Linked DNA regions of Homo sapiens: all the other regions are linked to region 2. Evidence: promoter capture Hi-C in human tissues and cell types (Jung and others, 2019). All regions are on one chromosome and are shown on one strand. The core of a region is centred on a gene start or on the middle of the fragment in contact, and the rest is flanking DNA. Distances in the headings are between cores, read along the strand shown.

The links. Contacts are between HindIII fragments. The study calls those that stand out against the background at their distance.
Region 1: a fragment that was not itself captured here is called in contact with the fragment with the promoter of TPBGL in region 2 in 2 of the 25 tissues and cell types used here (lymphoblastoid cells and mesenchymal stem cells).
Region 3: a contact is called between a fragment that was not itself captured here and the fragment with the promoter of TPBGL in region 2, in 1 of the 25 tissues and cell types used here (mesendoderm cells).
Region 4: the fragment with the promoter of NEU3 here is called in contact with the fragment with the promoter of TPBGL in region 2 in 1 of the 25 tissues and cell types used here (dorsolateral prefrontal cortex).

The regions. Positions count from the first base shown.
Region 1 is chr11:75,004,675-75,008,143 of GRCh38, forward strand. It overlaps NEU3 (neuraminidase 3), which reads left to right. Exons shown (of 3, transcript NM_006656.6): 3 at 739-3,469. The coding sequence ends at 1,818. Among named protein-coding and RNA genes, the nearest start is that of NEU3, 17 kb to the left of the region's middle. The HindIII fragment of the contact is 5,878 bases long and covers 1-3,469 here.
Region 2 is chr11:75,238,721-75,242,534 of GRCh38, forward strand. It overlaps TPBGL (trophoblast glycoprotein like), which reads left to right and starts at 2,054. Exons shown (of 1, transcript NM_001195528.2): 1 at 2,054-3,814. The coding sequence starts at 2,330. The coding sequence ends at 3,478. It overlaps LOC124902717 (a long non-coding RNA gene), which reads right to left and starts at 1,150. Exons shown (of 2, transcript XR_007062783.1): 1 at 926-1,150. RefSeq lists silencers at 2,960-3,209, 3,340-3,419. The HindIII fragment of the contact is 18,187 bases long and covers 1-3,814 here.
Region 3 is chr11:75,389,564-75,393,092 of GRCh38, forward strand. No RefSeq gene overlaps it. Among named protein-coding and RNA genes, the nearest start is that of RPS3, 8.2 kb to the right of the region's middle. The HindIII fragment of the contact is 5,892 bases long and covers 1-3,529 here.
Region 4 is chr11:74,987,470-74,990,902 of GRCh38, forward strand. It overlaps NEU3 (neuraminidase 3), which reads left to right and starts at 1,464. Exons shown (of 3, transcript NM_006656.6): 1 at 1,464-1,685. The coding sequence starts at 1,592. RefSeq lists enhancers at 1,214-1,263, 1,544-1,733. The HindIII fragment of the contact is 16,586 bases long and covers 1-1,604 here.

The DNA.
Region 1 (3,469 bases), core at 496-2,995, 230 kb before region 2:
AATTGAGGTAAAGTAAGATTAAGTAACTTGCCCATAGTCACAAAATAAGTGATGAAAGCATGGTTTGAACTAGGTGTCTCTGAATCTATGCTTGAGCTTTCAACAAAAGTTATGAATTGCCTTCCCAGTGTAGTACAGGAGGGAAAAAAATTTGTCTTAAATTTCCTTTTATTTGCTTAAAATTTCTGTATTTGTTTGCCTTGCTTTTCTTTTCTTCCTTTTCTTTTTTCTTTCTTTCCTTTCCTTTCTTTTTTTTTTCTTTCTTTCTTTCTTTGTAAAAATATTTAGCACCTATTATGTACCAGGGGCTGGAGAATCAATATTAGTAACCAATAGTATAAGCCCTGAAAAGGCTCATAGTCTAGAAAAGGAAGACAGTCATAAAAAGTTACAATGTTATACAATAAATGTATTAGGGGAGGAGAGTGAGTTTCATGGAAGGCTTTATAAAGGAGGTGACTTTTGAGTTGGGTATGGAGGATGATTTGGAAGTCTAGATGAAATGAGGAATAGCATTCCAGACAGAGGAGACAGCTTGTACAACATTTAGCATTGTCTCTTTCCAGCTTTGTAAGTTATCCTGTAATATCCGAGAATTTAGTGAGTAGTTAGGCCTTCGTGATTTTATAGATTTCAATATCATTTATTTCTTATTTATGAAAAATACTAATACTTTTAATGAGCTTCATGTTTTCCTATTAGTATCTCACTCCTACTTTCTCCCTTCTCCTTGTCTAGTGGGGGCCCCTGAAGCCACTGATGGAAGCCACACTACCGGGGCATCGGACCATGAACCCCTGTCCTGTATGGGAGCAGAAGAGTGGTTGTGTGTTCCTGTTCTTCATCTGTGTGCGGGGCCATGTCACAGAGCGTCAACAGATTGTGTCAGGCAGGAATGCTGCCCGCCTTTGCTTCATCTACAGTCAGGATGCTGGATGTTCATGGAGTGAGGTGAGGGACTTGACTGAGGAGGTCATTGGCTCAGAGCTGAAGCACTGGGCCACATTTGCTGTGGGCCCAGGTCATGGCATCCAGCTGCAGTCAGGGAGACTGGTCATCCCTGCGTATACCTACTACATCCCTTCCTGGTTCTTTTGCTTCCAGCTACCATGTAAAACCAGGCCTCATTCTCTGATGATCTACAGTGATGACCTAGGGGTCACATGGCACCATGGTAGACTCATTAGGCCCATGGTTACAGTAGAATGTGAAGTGGCAGAGGTGACTGGGAGGGCTGGCCACCCTGTGCTATATTGCAGTGCCCGGACACCAAACAGGTGCCGGGCAGAGGCGCTCAGCACTGACCATGGTGAAGGCTTTCAGAGACTGGCCCTGAGTCGACAGCTCTGTGAGCCCCCACATGGTTGCCAAGGGAGTGTGGTAAGTTTCCGGCCCCTGGAGATCCCACATAGGTGCCAGGACTCTAGCAGCAAAGATGCACCCACCATTCAGCAGAGCTCTCCAGGCAGTTCACTGAGGCTGGAGGAGGAAGCTGGAACACCGTCAGAATCATGGCTCTTGTACTCACACCCAACCAGTAGGAAACAGAGGGTTGACCTAGGTATCTATCTCAACCAGACCCCCTTGGAGGCTGCCTGCTGGTCCCGCCCCTGGATCTTGCACTGTGGGCCCTGTGGCTACTCTGATCTGGCTGCTCTGGAGGAGGAGGGCTTGTTTGGGTGTTTGTTTGAATGTGGGACCAAGCAAGAGTGTGAGCAGATTGCCTTCCGCCTGTTTACACACCGGGAGATCCTGAGTCACCTGCAGGGGGACTGCACCAGCCCTGGTAGGAACCCAAGCCAATTCAAAAGCAATTAATTGGCTTAGGACCCAATTTCCATAGATGCAAATGGCAGTTACAGACAGGTTAACAGAAGCTACTGAAGTCTACAGATAATCAAAAAACTTAATATTCTGTTCCCTACCTTTTTTCACTTTTCCTCCTCCAAAGAGCAAAATGAAAATTTTGCCTTAGCTACTGCAGTGGAAAGAGCACTGAACTAGGAGTTGGAAGACAAGGATGTGGTCCTGGCTCTGCCACTGGCTTGCTTTTGGACCTTGGATGTGTCACCTGAACTCTCTGGACCTCAGGTTTCCATCTGTAAAATGAGAGTATTGGTTCTAAGATTTCTCATCTTCTCATCCCTAGGACAAGCATAGTGCCTGCATGCTTCATGATCAGTAAGTCCTGGCTGCATAAAGGACTCTGATGTCAAAATGGAAACCAGGGGACTTACCTTTTCACATGACTTACCCCTCATCCGAGTGTGAGGTTACAAGCAGGTGTCATGGCAGGAAGGAAGACCAGATCTGTATGATTTGTTCCATTTTTAATAACAAAAATATCCACACCCTTTTAATAATGCTCAGTTCTGTAGGCTCTCTATCCTAGAGGAATTGAGCAAAACAGAAGAATCATGAAGTCTCCTACCTTCTACAGCCTTGTAGTTCTGCTTACCTTCTCTTCCTCATCCAGAAAGCATCATTTTCTAGGGAGAACAATGAGAATCTCAATGCCAGTAGTACTGGATAATAGTGCGTATTGCTTCTGGTGGCATTACCCTGATGATGGGCTGAAGTTCATTTATTAGGGTGGTTCCTGATGGGAAAAGGACATGGATTAGGACTTTAAAACACTGGACAGAATTTCCCACAGTCTTTGCCCTCAAGGAGTTCACCAGTTTATGGGGCTAGAAGAGCGAGAAAATTCAAGAAAATAAATGTAGCTGGTGGGAGACTTTGTAGATGTTGGGCTATATGTTGGGGTGATGGTAGCTCCTGATGTAATTTTCTTAGTTGCATCTTCAATATGCCTGGAGTCGTCTGTCCAAGGCTTGTCCAGGCTTCTGGGTTTCTCTCAAGTTTGTTTTTCTCAGGATATTGTCCTGGCCCAGCTACTCCTTTACCTGTGAGAAGATCTTCACCATTAGGAAGATCTCTAGACCCCCAGATCTCAGAATCAGGCCTATTTGTGTAGGCCCATGGAAATCACTACTTGTGAAGTAGAGATGCCTTTTTGTCTAATGGTTTTCGTGCTGAACTTAGTTCATGCTGAGTCTCTCAGATGATACCACGTTGGTTGTTCCTATCTTAGATTGTTTCTCCCATAGCCTGTTATTGCAACAGAAATTCTATCATGAGAGATTTATTTTTTTGTCCCTATTTTAGGAGTCTAATGCTTAAACTGGTATCAACTAAATATATTTGGTGTTGTACAATGACCACAGAGAACAAGTCTTAGTCATGAAATATAGCCTAGGAGACTAGGGGTTACAGTTGCACTAGTTGGGTAGAGAGAGTCCTACAGGATAAAAGTGGAGATTAACTTTACCTACTTTAGCAGATTGCTTAAGCCATGGCTTAGAGTGGCTTTTAAAAATCCCCTTAGCCTCTCCTACATTTGCCAAGGTAATCTTCCCAATACACAATTATTCACTCATGTATACATTTATCTAAATATTTCTTGAGT
Region 2 (3,814 bases), core at 804-3,303:
TTTCCCCAAATGAGGTGTTGAGCACCCCCCCAATCAAGGCTGCCTGTGGTCCTGCAGCTCCTTTCCTGGGGGGCAGCAGGGGAGGGGGGCATCAGCCAATCTGAGGCCAGCCACCACCGGGGCCTGGGGAAGGAGTTCCAGCCTTGGTAGTGGTCTGATTCCTCAGGGCCTGGAAGCAGACAAGGAAACAGAGACTTCTGTTCATTCAGTCTGTCATTTGCACCACACACTCTCCTGAGATAGTCTCTATACTGGAAACAGAAAAGTGAAAACGACCTAGTGCCTCCTACCAGGGGAGATGTCAGAGCTGGGGCATGTTGCTGTGTGGGCCGGGGTTTAGGGGAGGGCTATAGCTGGGGGCCCAGCCCCAGTGGCATCTACTTGAGCACGTGTGCCCATGTGAGAAAAGACATCACCAGCCTGTTACCTCCACAGACCAAGGGCATGGTGCAGGGCAGGAGGAGTAGGGTCTGACTGTGCTAGCCAATCGCTGGGTCCCTATGCTTGGCATGGCTTAAGCATGGGCCTGTAAGCTTGCCCTCTGAGAATGTATCCACGAACCTGCATGGGCTCAGAAGTGTGCATATTCAAATATGTATGTCTTTATGAATTTATGGACACATGCCAGGACGCACTCAAACCTACGATCCTATGTCCACATATGAATGAGTCTGCATGGACTTGCATGAGACACATCTGAGCTCTCATACCTGGGAGAGTTAAGACAGGGGGTAGGGAAGAGAGAGGGGCTTGGAGGAGGGGAGAGCTGGGAGACCCCCATCATCACCAGCTCTGTTCCTTAATGTTGGTCCTTGCCCAAGACCCAGGCCACTGCAGGGTCTGCCTCTTCTCCTTAAGTGGTATTGATCCTTTGGTCGATCTGTTAAATATAACCTCAGGGAAGGAGTCAACATAACAACCGTACCCAATTCAGGAGAAAGAGACTGATTCTTGGGAGGAGGTGGGGAGCCTCTATTCCAACCAGCTCTGCTGATACCCGAATGGCCTGCGGATCAAGTGTCAGCCTCTCCAGCCTGAATAATTCATGCTAAGGCCAGGAATCCTCCCTTCTCAGGAGCCTGTCTCTTTAAATCAGGTTTAGAGCTTCCCAGTTCTGGGGGAAAAAAAATCCAGAACAAAACAAATCTGTAAACAGCTCAGCCCCCCCACCCTCAGCCCTGGCCCCTTCTGAGACCCCCAACTCCATGCTGCAAAATCTGCTCCTGCTCTCCCAACCTCTGGTGCCCCAAACCCCACTCACAGGCGGAGAAGCCTGGAGGGACTAGTTGACAGTGTCCAACGGAACCCCAGGAGTCTTAAGAGGTTTGGGGGCAGGGAGTGAAAGCAAAGAGCAGAATCACTACACCCCCGGGTCTCTGTGCCTAGGACAGTGCTTGGCAGAGAAGCCCAGCCCGGTGGAGGAAACCACACGGGGGAACTCCTGGCAGAGGCAGAGCAGCCAGAGTTGGTGGGTGGGAGGGGAGCGGGTGCCACAGACTTCTCCTGAGAATGGGATGGGATGGGATGGAGAAAAAGCTGGTCCCATAGGACCTGCAGGGGTGGTGACACAGCCAGGTCTAATGGAACTAGGGTCGCAGAGGAGGAAGCAGAGACTGGGGATTTTCCAGTCTCTCTGCCTTAGGAAGAGGCCGGAAAATGAGTAACTTTCTCAGCCCACCCCTCATCCCTTCCTCCGGTAGTAGGAGCAGCTCTAAAGTCCTCCCCAACCCCCGAATTCTCCCTGGTGGTGACCCACCTGCCTGCTCTCCGCAGTCGGGCCCCGCCCCACACGTGCTGGAGAAGGAGGAGGAAGGACCCAGCTTAAATGTTGGGGGTGGAGGAGGAGGAAAACCAAGTCGGAGCCTCCAGGAGCCAAACTTCTCGGCAGCCCGGAGGGGCGGGGGCGGAGAGGATGAAGAGAAAGCGCAGCAGCCGACAGCCCTGATTCTCGGGAGCCTCCCACCCCGCCTCCCACGGCGAGGAGGGCGCGGAGACTCCGCTGGGGGCGGAGGACGAGACCGGGAGGCGGGGAGGGGGGAGGCAAACCCTGCCCACTCGGCTCGGAGCCCGGAGCGGCCGCGGAAGCCGGAGGCCGGCGCGCAGGGCGAGGGCACCGGGGGCGGGGGGCTCCGCTCCCCGTCTGACCCCTCTTGCCCCCGGCCAGTCAGCCAGTAAGTGCGGCTCCTCAGACTTTCGAGACAGCGAACGGACCGACCGGGACTGCCAGCCGCTCCGGGTCAAGGACTCGCCCCACCCGTGCCCCCCACCAGGCGCTCCCAACTCACTGGTGAGCGCGGCGGCCCGGGCGCTGGATGCGGGGGCGGCCGCGATGGCCCCGCGCGCGGGACAGCCGGGGCTCCAGGGGCTGCTGCTCGTGGCGGCGGCGCTGAGCCAGCCCGCGGCACCCTGCCCCTTCCAGTGCTACTGCTTCGGCGGCCCCAAGCTGCTGCTGCGCTGCGCGTCGGGAGCCGAGCTCCGCCAGCCTCCGCGGGACGTGCCGCCCGACGCGCGCAACCTCACCATCGTAGGCGCCAACCTGACGGTGCTGCGCGCGGCCGCCTTCGCCGGCGGGGACGGGGACGGCGACCAGGCGGCGGGCGTGCGCCTGCCGCTCCTGAGCGCGCTGCGCCTCACGCACAACCACATCGAGGTGGTGGAGGACGGCGCCTTCGACGGGCTGCCCAGCCTGGCGGCGCTCGACCTCAGCCACAACCCGCTGCGCGCCCTGGGCGGCGGCGCCTTCCGCGGGCTGCCCGCGCTGCGCTCGCTGCAGCTCAACCACGCGCTGGTGCGCGGCGGCCCCGCGCTGCTGGCCGCGCTGGACGCTGCGCTGGCACCGCTGGCCGAGCTTCGCCTGCTGGGCCTAGCGGGCAACGCGCTGAGCCGTCTGCCGCCAGCCGCCCTGCGCCTGGCGCGCCTGGAGCAGCTGGACGTGCGCCTCAACGCGCTGGCCGGCCTGGACCCCGACGAGCTGCGCGCGCTGGAGCGCGATGGCGGCCTCCCCGGGCCGCGCCTGCTGCTCGCCGACAACCCCCTGCGCTGCGGCTGTGCCGCACGCCCCCTGCTGGCCTGGCTGCGCAACGCCACGGAGCGCGTGCCCGACTCGCGGCGCCTGCGCTGCGCCGCCCCGCGGGCGCTGCTAGACCGGCCGCTACTGGACCTGGACGGGGCGCGGCTTCGCTGCGCGGACAGCGGCGCCGACGCTCGCGGAGAGGAGGCGGAGGCCGCCGGCCCGGAGCTGGAAGCCTCCTACGTGTTCTTCGGGCTGGTGCTGGCACTCATCGGCCTCATCTTCCTCATGGTGCTCTACCTAAACCGCCGCGGCATCCAGCGCTGGATGCGCAACCTGCGCGAGGCGTGCCGGGACCAGATGGAGGGCTACCACTACCGCTACGAGCAGGACGCCGACCCGCGCCGCGCGCCCGCGCCCGCCGCGCCCGCGGGCTCCCGCGCCACCTCCCCGGGCTCGGGGCTCTGAGCGGCGCCCCCGGGCTCGGGGCTTCCCTTGCCTGGCCCGAAGCCGTGGAGATGAGACACCCGCGAGCCCCGAGCTCTGAGACCTTCCCCTGACTCGGAGGCGCTAAGCCGTACCCTCTCGTTCCCGCCTCCGAGAGCTCCCACCGTCAAAGACCCAGAGATAGCCGGTCCGAATCCAGAAACCCCGCCTGCCCACCCTAGTTTCCGAAACCTCCCTCCTGAACCACTGAAAGTCCGTTCCCCGTCTCGGAGCTCACACAGAGAATCTGTCCTTCAAGGCCAAAGCTCTGAGACTTGCCCCCAGCACCCTGTGCTTGGAGCTCCGACACCCGAGACT
Region 3 (3,529 bases), core at 261-2,760, 150 kb after region 2:
CGCGGTGGCTCACGCCTATAATCCCAGCACTTTGGGAGGCCGAGGCGGGTGGATCATGAGGTCAGGAAATCGAGACCATCCTGGCTAACACGGTGAAACCCCGTCTCTACTAAAAATACAAAAAAAATTTAGCCGGGCGTGGAGGCGGGCGCCTATAGTCCTAGCTACTCGGGAGGCTGAGGCAGGAGAATGGCGTGAACCCGGGAGGCGGAGCTTGCAGTGAGCCGAGATCGCGCCACTGCACTCCAGCCTGGGCAACAGAGCGAGACTCCGTCTCAAAAAAAAAAAAAAAAAAAAAAAAGCAATGCTAACCCATTCCATCTAACAAGGATTTTCCATGTGCTAAGCACTAAGCTAAATGCTTTACAGATACCATTTAATTCAATCATAGAAATTCTATGAAATTAATGATAATTCCTCCATGTTATGGATGAAGACTCTTAGACTCAGAAAGGTTAAGTGACTTGCCTGAGATCACAAAGCTTGTAAGTGGCAGTACTGGGATAGGAAATAGACTGAGCTGGCTTCCAGTTTGCCCTCTGTCTGCCTCCACCTGAGCTGCCCACTCCCTTTCCACCCTCCAGGCATGGCGCCAGCGTCCCTCGCCGCCGGGTGTATTGTGGTGCCCCCATTTGTGTGATATTGCAGGTGCACATTGACTCCTCACAGTGGGTATCGACACCTAGGGAGAGATCTGGAAACTTGTGCCCCCGTAGTTTACACTGCCTTACCAGAACAGTGTCATTTTTATTTTCCTGGGTCTTTTTTCTTTTTTCCAAAAGGAGTCTCGCTCTGTCGCCCAGACTGGAATGCAGTGGCGCGATCTCAGCTCGCTGCAACCTCCACCTCCTGGGTTCGAGTGATTCTCCTGCCTCAGCCTCCTGAATAGCTGGGATTACAGGCACGCACCACCACTTCCAACTAATTTTTGTTAGAGACGAGGTTTCACCATGTTGGCCAGGCTGGTCTCAAACTCTTGACCTCAAGTGATCTGCCTGCCTTGGCCTCCCAAAGTGCTGGGATTACAGGCGTGAGCCACCATCTCCAGGCTTTCCTGGGTCATTTTTATTTCCTTCTTTGTTCTTTTCAATATTTTTAAATGAAAGCATTTTATTGTTTAAATCAGGAAACTATTTTCATAATTCAGGGGTGTTCTCTTGCTCCCAAAGTGTTCAACCCATTTACGCTGCCTGGTGCATCCACTACTCTGGTAAACAACTGAGCCTCTTGTAAGCCTCCACTGAAGAACTGAAACTCTGTGACATCTTTTCCAACACCCTGCCTTCCCCAACGCCTTCTCACTGTAATGCCCCTTATGATGCCTATCACACTCATTTATCTGTATCCCCACTCCCAGCTCTGAGCTCCTGGAAGGCAGCAGCGGAGTCAGATTCTTCAGTGACACTAGGATCTGGCATCGGCACTGGTTCCAAGCAAGAATAACTAATGCCAATTGAATACACTGCATCCCGGATGCTTTACTATGTGCTAAGCACTTTGCCTGTATTAATTCATTTACTCTTACAACTATTCCAGGGTGTGGGTTTACTATTATTTTCATCACATTTTACAGATGAAGTAACTGATGCACAGATAACACACCTGAGGTCGCCTAGCTGGTAACTATAGAAACCCAGACCAGGAATGCGAGACCAGGCTGTCGGGCTCAAACATACGCCACACTGAAGAGGTGCTTGGTAATGCTTTGCTAAATGAAAAAACCTAGAGTTTCTCCAAAGTATCATTCAATCTGAAAAGTGTTTTGAATACAGCTGGGAGCAGTGGCCACACCTGTAATCACAACTATTTGGGAGGCTGAGTGAGGTGTGAGGATGGCGTGAGGCCAGGAGTTTGGGAGCAGCCTGGGCAACATAGCAAAACCCTGTCTCTAAAATAAATAAATAAATAAATAAAATTGATCAGGGGGAGTGCCTTGAATAGTCCCAAAGGCAGGAAATTACGCTTATTTTTTTGTGTGTCTTTTTTTTTTTTTTCTTCCTTTTTGTGAAGAACAGGGTCTTGCTATATTGCCCAGGCAGGTCTCGAACTCCTGGGCTCAAGCTATCCTCCTGCCTCTGCCTCCCTGAGATCTGGGATTACAGGCGTGAGCCACCGCGCCCAGCTTCAAAGGCAGGAATTTAAATCCACATCCCAGCCCACTGTGCGGATCCAGTGGCCACACAGCCAGTTTATTCAGGAAAACCTGAACAAAGTTAAGTGGTTGCACTCACTGAGTTCACCTCTCCTCATTTACTAAACCATTTGGACCTCAGTTTATAGAAGAGAAAGAACACGTATATGTGGGTGAGGGGCTGTGGTGGTCTCACTTCCCTGGCTCCAGGCCTCCAGGCCTCCAGGAGCAATCCTGAACTTCCCTTAATCTGCCTCTTCCATCCTTATAAAGCTGATCTTCTAGGTCAGGGTGGGGTCCCAGGAACTCACCTGACTATGAAACTTAACTGTGAGTTTGCTATCAACTGTCTCTAAAAAAGAAAAAGAAAAAGGAATTGCCAGTCACCCCAGCCTTCAACAACCACCACCCTGATCAGTCAGCAGCCATCAACATCAAGGCAAGATCTTCCACCAGCAAAAAGATTATGACTCACTGAAAGCTCAGATGATCATTGGCATTTTTTATCAATAAAGTATTTTTAATTAAGATATGTACATTTTGGTTTTAGACATAATGCTATTGCACACTTAATAGACTACAGTTAAGTGTGCAATGGTGCAAATATAACTTTTACATGCACTATAGTGTAAATATAACTTTGATATGCACTGGGAAACAAAACAAATTCATGTGACTCACTTTGTTGGGATGTGTCTGGAGCCAAACCTGCAACGTCTCTGAGGTATACCTGTAATTCTAAATGTTCTAGTAGCAAAAAGCAAAAAGAAATAGATGAACTTAATTGTAATAACATTTTATTTAACCCTATATATAAAGTGTTATTGTTTCAACATGTAATCAATATAAAATATTAATGAGACATTATATTCCTTTTTGTATTTCCAAATCTGGTGTGTATTTTATGCTTACAGCATTTTTCCATCCAGACTAGCCATTTTTATGTGCTCAAAAGCCCCATGAGGTCAGTGCCTATGGTATAAGATAATACAAATGTATAGTCTGAATAAGAGACTCTGAGTTTTTTTTTTTTTTTTTTTTTTCCTGAGACGGAGTCTTGCTCTGTCGCCCAGGCTGTAGTGCAGTGGCGCCATCTCGGCTCACTGCAACCTCCGCCTCCCAGGTTCAAGCAATTCTCCTGCCTCAGCCTCCCGAGTAGCTGAGATTACAGGTGTGTGCCACCACACTCGGCTAATTTTGTATTTTTAGTAGAGATGGGGTTTCACCATGTTGGCCAGGCTGGCCTTGAACTCCTGACCTCTGGTGATCCATCCACCTCAGCCTCCCAAAGTGCTGGGATTACAGGCGTGAGCCACAGCTCCTGGCCTGAGACTCTGAGTTTTCTATCATAGATCACATTGTAGATGAAAAGTTTTTTTTTTAAAAAAAAGAGACTCT
Region 4 (3,433 bases), core at 214-2,713, 250 kb before region 2:
GCCATTTTTTTCATGGAACCCTGGTTCCTTTGGGGACAAAATAGTATTTTAAGACCCATTATTGCCAGGCGCGGTGGCTCACGCCTGTAATCCCAGCACTTTGGTAGGCCGAGGCGGGCGGATCACGAGGTCAGGAGATCGAGATCATCCTGGCTAACATGGTGAAACCCCGTCTCTATAAAAAATACAAAAAATTAGCCGGGCGTGGTGGTGGGCGCCTGTAGTCCCAGCTACTCGGGAGGCTGAGGCAGGAGAATGGCGTGAACCCGGGAGGCGGAGCTTGCAGTGAGCCAAGATGACGCCACTGCACTCCAGCCTGGGCGGCAGAGACACACTCCATCTCAAAAAATAAAAATAAAAATAAAAAAGACCCATTATTTGGGCTTATTACGATGAGTTGGTCTCTGGTTCTAGGCCTTTTTTTTTTTCTTTTTTTTTTTTTTTTTTTTAGAAAAATACAGCAGGTTGTATTGAGGTTGGCACCTATGTTCTTTCAAAGAACCCTCATCATTTTGTGAGTTCTTTCCTTGTGGCACCACGATGTTCCAGGCTCATCTTGTATGTTCCCTGCCTCAGCACAGGATTTTTTTTAATGAGAAAAATATCACGAATTCAAATTTACAGAAGCTTTACATTTTTATGTCCTCTAAGTTAGCAGTCTGTCTTTCCTTTTATTGGCGTTTGTAAAATTTCTTCTTTTTAAAATTGTTATATTTTAGAGACAGGGTCTCGCTCTGTCACCCAGGCTGGAGTGCAGTGGTGCAATCACAGCTCACCACAGCCTCCAACTCCTGGGCTCAAGGCATCCTCCCACGTAGGCCTTCCAAAGCGCTGAGATTGTAGGCATAAGCCACCAGGCCCAGCCTATTACCTTTACGTTGTACTTAGTCCCAGATAAAAAATGACCTTAGATCAGTCCTTTCCTCTTTGGCTGGGGAGAGGGGGGCTTAAATTCCGGTACTGTGAAACAGAAGAATGGACTCAGTGCTATGTGACAAATCTATGTATGTAAATGTGTGTATATACACACACATAAATTATATATATGAATATATTTTCATTTTCATATTTTGCAAGGAGAGTAGCCAATGCTCTGGACCTCTGGTCCTTTTTGTAGGGTACCCTCTGAGGCCGGGAACCTTTGCTCAACTCTCAGGCTGTCCAGGGAAGCTTTAGGCGGTGATACCGAGCTACAGACCAATATAAGAGCTCGGGGCTGTGGCACTGAAGAGAGGAGGCGGCCGTTGGGAACTGAGGTGGGCCCAGGGCTTGAGCTGAGTTGGCGAGGGTGGAGGTGGTGCCGGTCCCACGCCGTGGTGGGGACCGAGCTGCGGGCTGGAGGGAGGGGCAGCGCCGAGGGGGCGGGACGGGGAGGGCTCGCGGAGTAGGCCAACGGTTGGCCCCAACCGCCACTGACTACAGCCTGCGCCCGCCTCTTTTCGTTGCCGTTACCTGTTTCCGGCAGTCGACACGCTCTTCGCTTCTCGGGGCTTGTCTCCGTGTCCTCCGTCTCAGTTGTTTCTCCCTCTCTATCCTCCTCTGTCTCAGTCTCCCCAGCCTTGGGGCCGGTGCCTCTTCCGGGCTTCGGCGAATGAGACCTGCGGACCTGCCCCCGCGCCCCATGGAAGAATCCCCGGCGTCCAGCTCTGCCCCGACAGAGACGGAGGAGCCGGGGTCCAGTGCAGGTGAGCGGGGTTGGGAGACAGGAGAGCTCCCCGAGGAGGACTCAACTGTGGGGACAGGTTGAGCAAGACCATCTGCGTTTGGGAAATCCAGCCTTGGATTATTGAGACAGAGCCACCTAGTCGGCTAGGATCTGACCTGGCCAGAGAATTCTTGGCTAGTCCTATTTTTATTCGTTCTCACAGAAGCCGAACTTAAACCTCAGAATTATCACTCCAGAGATGAAAGGGAACTGAGACTGGAAAAGCCCTGCTTACCAAAGGTCTCTGGGCGGCAGAAAGAGCCCTGAGCTTCAGTTTCAACTTAGGAGACCTGGGTCTTGGTCCAGATTTTACTGTGGAGTGGCGTTCAGTAAGCTTTGTCCCCATCCCGGGCCCGAGTTTTCCCATCTATACCATGAGAGGGTTTAGACTACAGATCTTCAAAGGTCTGGCACGTGGTAGGTGCTCCTTAAATATTACTTGTTAGGAGTGAATAAATGAGATAGGAAGGCCTCCTGGGATTCACTGGAGGCTCATTGGGTTAGTTGGAGGCTGTGGAATTACATTATTATAGTCTGAGAAGTAGGCGGTATTATCTCCATTTTATAAGTGAGGAAACTGAAGCTCAGAAGTAAAGTGACTTGCTAGTAAGTGTCAAAGATAAGTCAGACTTCAGAGTCCATGCTAGGCTATACTCTCTCCCAGTAAGAAAGCGGGAAGGACTTGATGGGAAAGTGATTATATCGAGCAGCAAGTAATCATTTGAATTCTCTGCTTAAATGAACCCCAGAGCAGGCCCATATCTGATTATTTTCTATCCCGTTTCCAGCACCTGATTTGTGTGAAACGTTTTGGGTGGCAATGCCAGAATCACCATCTATATTACTTCTGTCATCAACACGATCAGCATAATTACAAAAATTAATGGCTCTAATTGTTATAGTGATAATAAAGCATAAATGAAATTGTGAGGACATCAAAATTTATAATTAAAGACACCTATTAAAACAGCAGTTTAAAATTTATAAAACACTTTTGAGTGGTTCTTCATATTGATCTGCTTAGGTAGGTATTATTATCCATAGTTTACAAGCAAGGAATCCAAGACCTAGAGGTTGAGTAACCATCAAAACGTCATGCAGCAAGAAATGGAGCTGAGACTTGAATCCAGCCCATGTGACAAGTTGTGCTTCTCCTTTGGTGATTATTTCCCTATTTCCTCTCCATTTCCTTTTTTTTTTGAGATGGAGTCTTGCTGTGTCACCCAAGCTGGAGTGCAGTGGTGCAGTCTCGGCTCACTGCAACCTCCGTCTCCTGGTTTCAAGTGATTCTCCTGCCTCAGCCTCCCGAATAGCTGGGATTACAGGTGGATGCCACCATGCCTGGCCAATTTTTTTTGTATTTTTAGTAGAGATGGGGTGTCACCATGTTGGCCAGGGTGGTCTCGAACTCCTGACCTCAAGTGATCTGCCCACCTCAGCCTCCCAGAGTGGTGGGAATATAGGCATGAGCCACCGCACCCAGCCTCTTCCTTTCCTGTTCTGAGCCCTAACCCGCTCCATGCCTATCCTGTGCTCCATTCTTCTTATCACCTGGAGAATTCCTGTTTAGATTTAACTAATAGTCACATGTTGACTGATGATAGTAGTGTTGGTTTAACTTGTAATTAAGGTGTTAAGAGTTTAAAGTATGTTCTCTTTCAGCAATAAAGGGGGATTTAAATGTTTTTAAGAAAGGGAGTTGTAATTGTTATTATTGTCATTGTTATC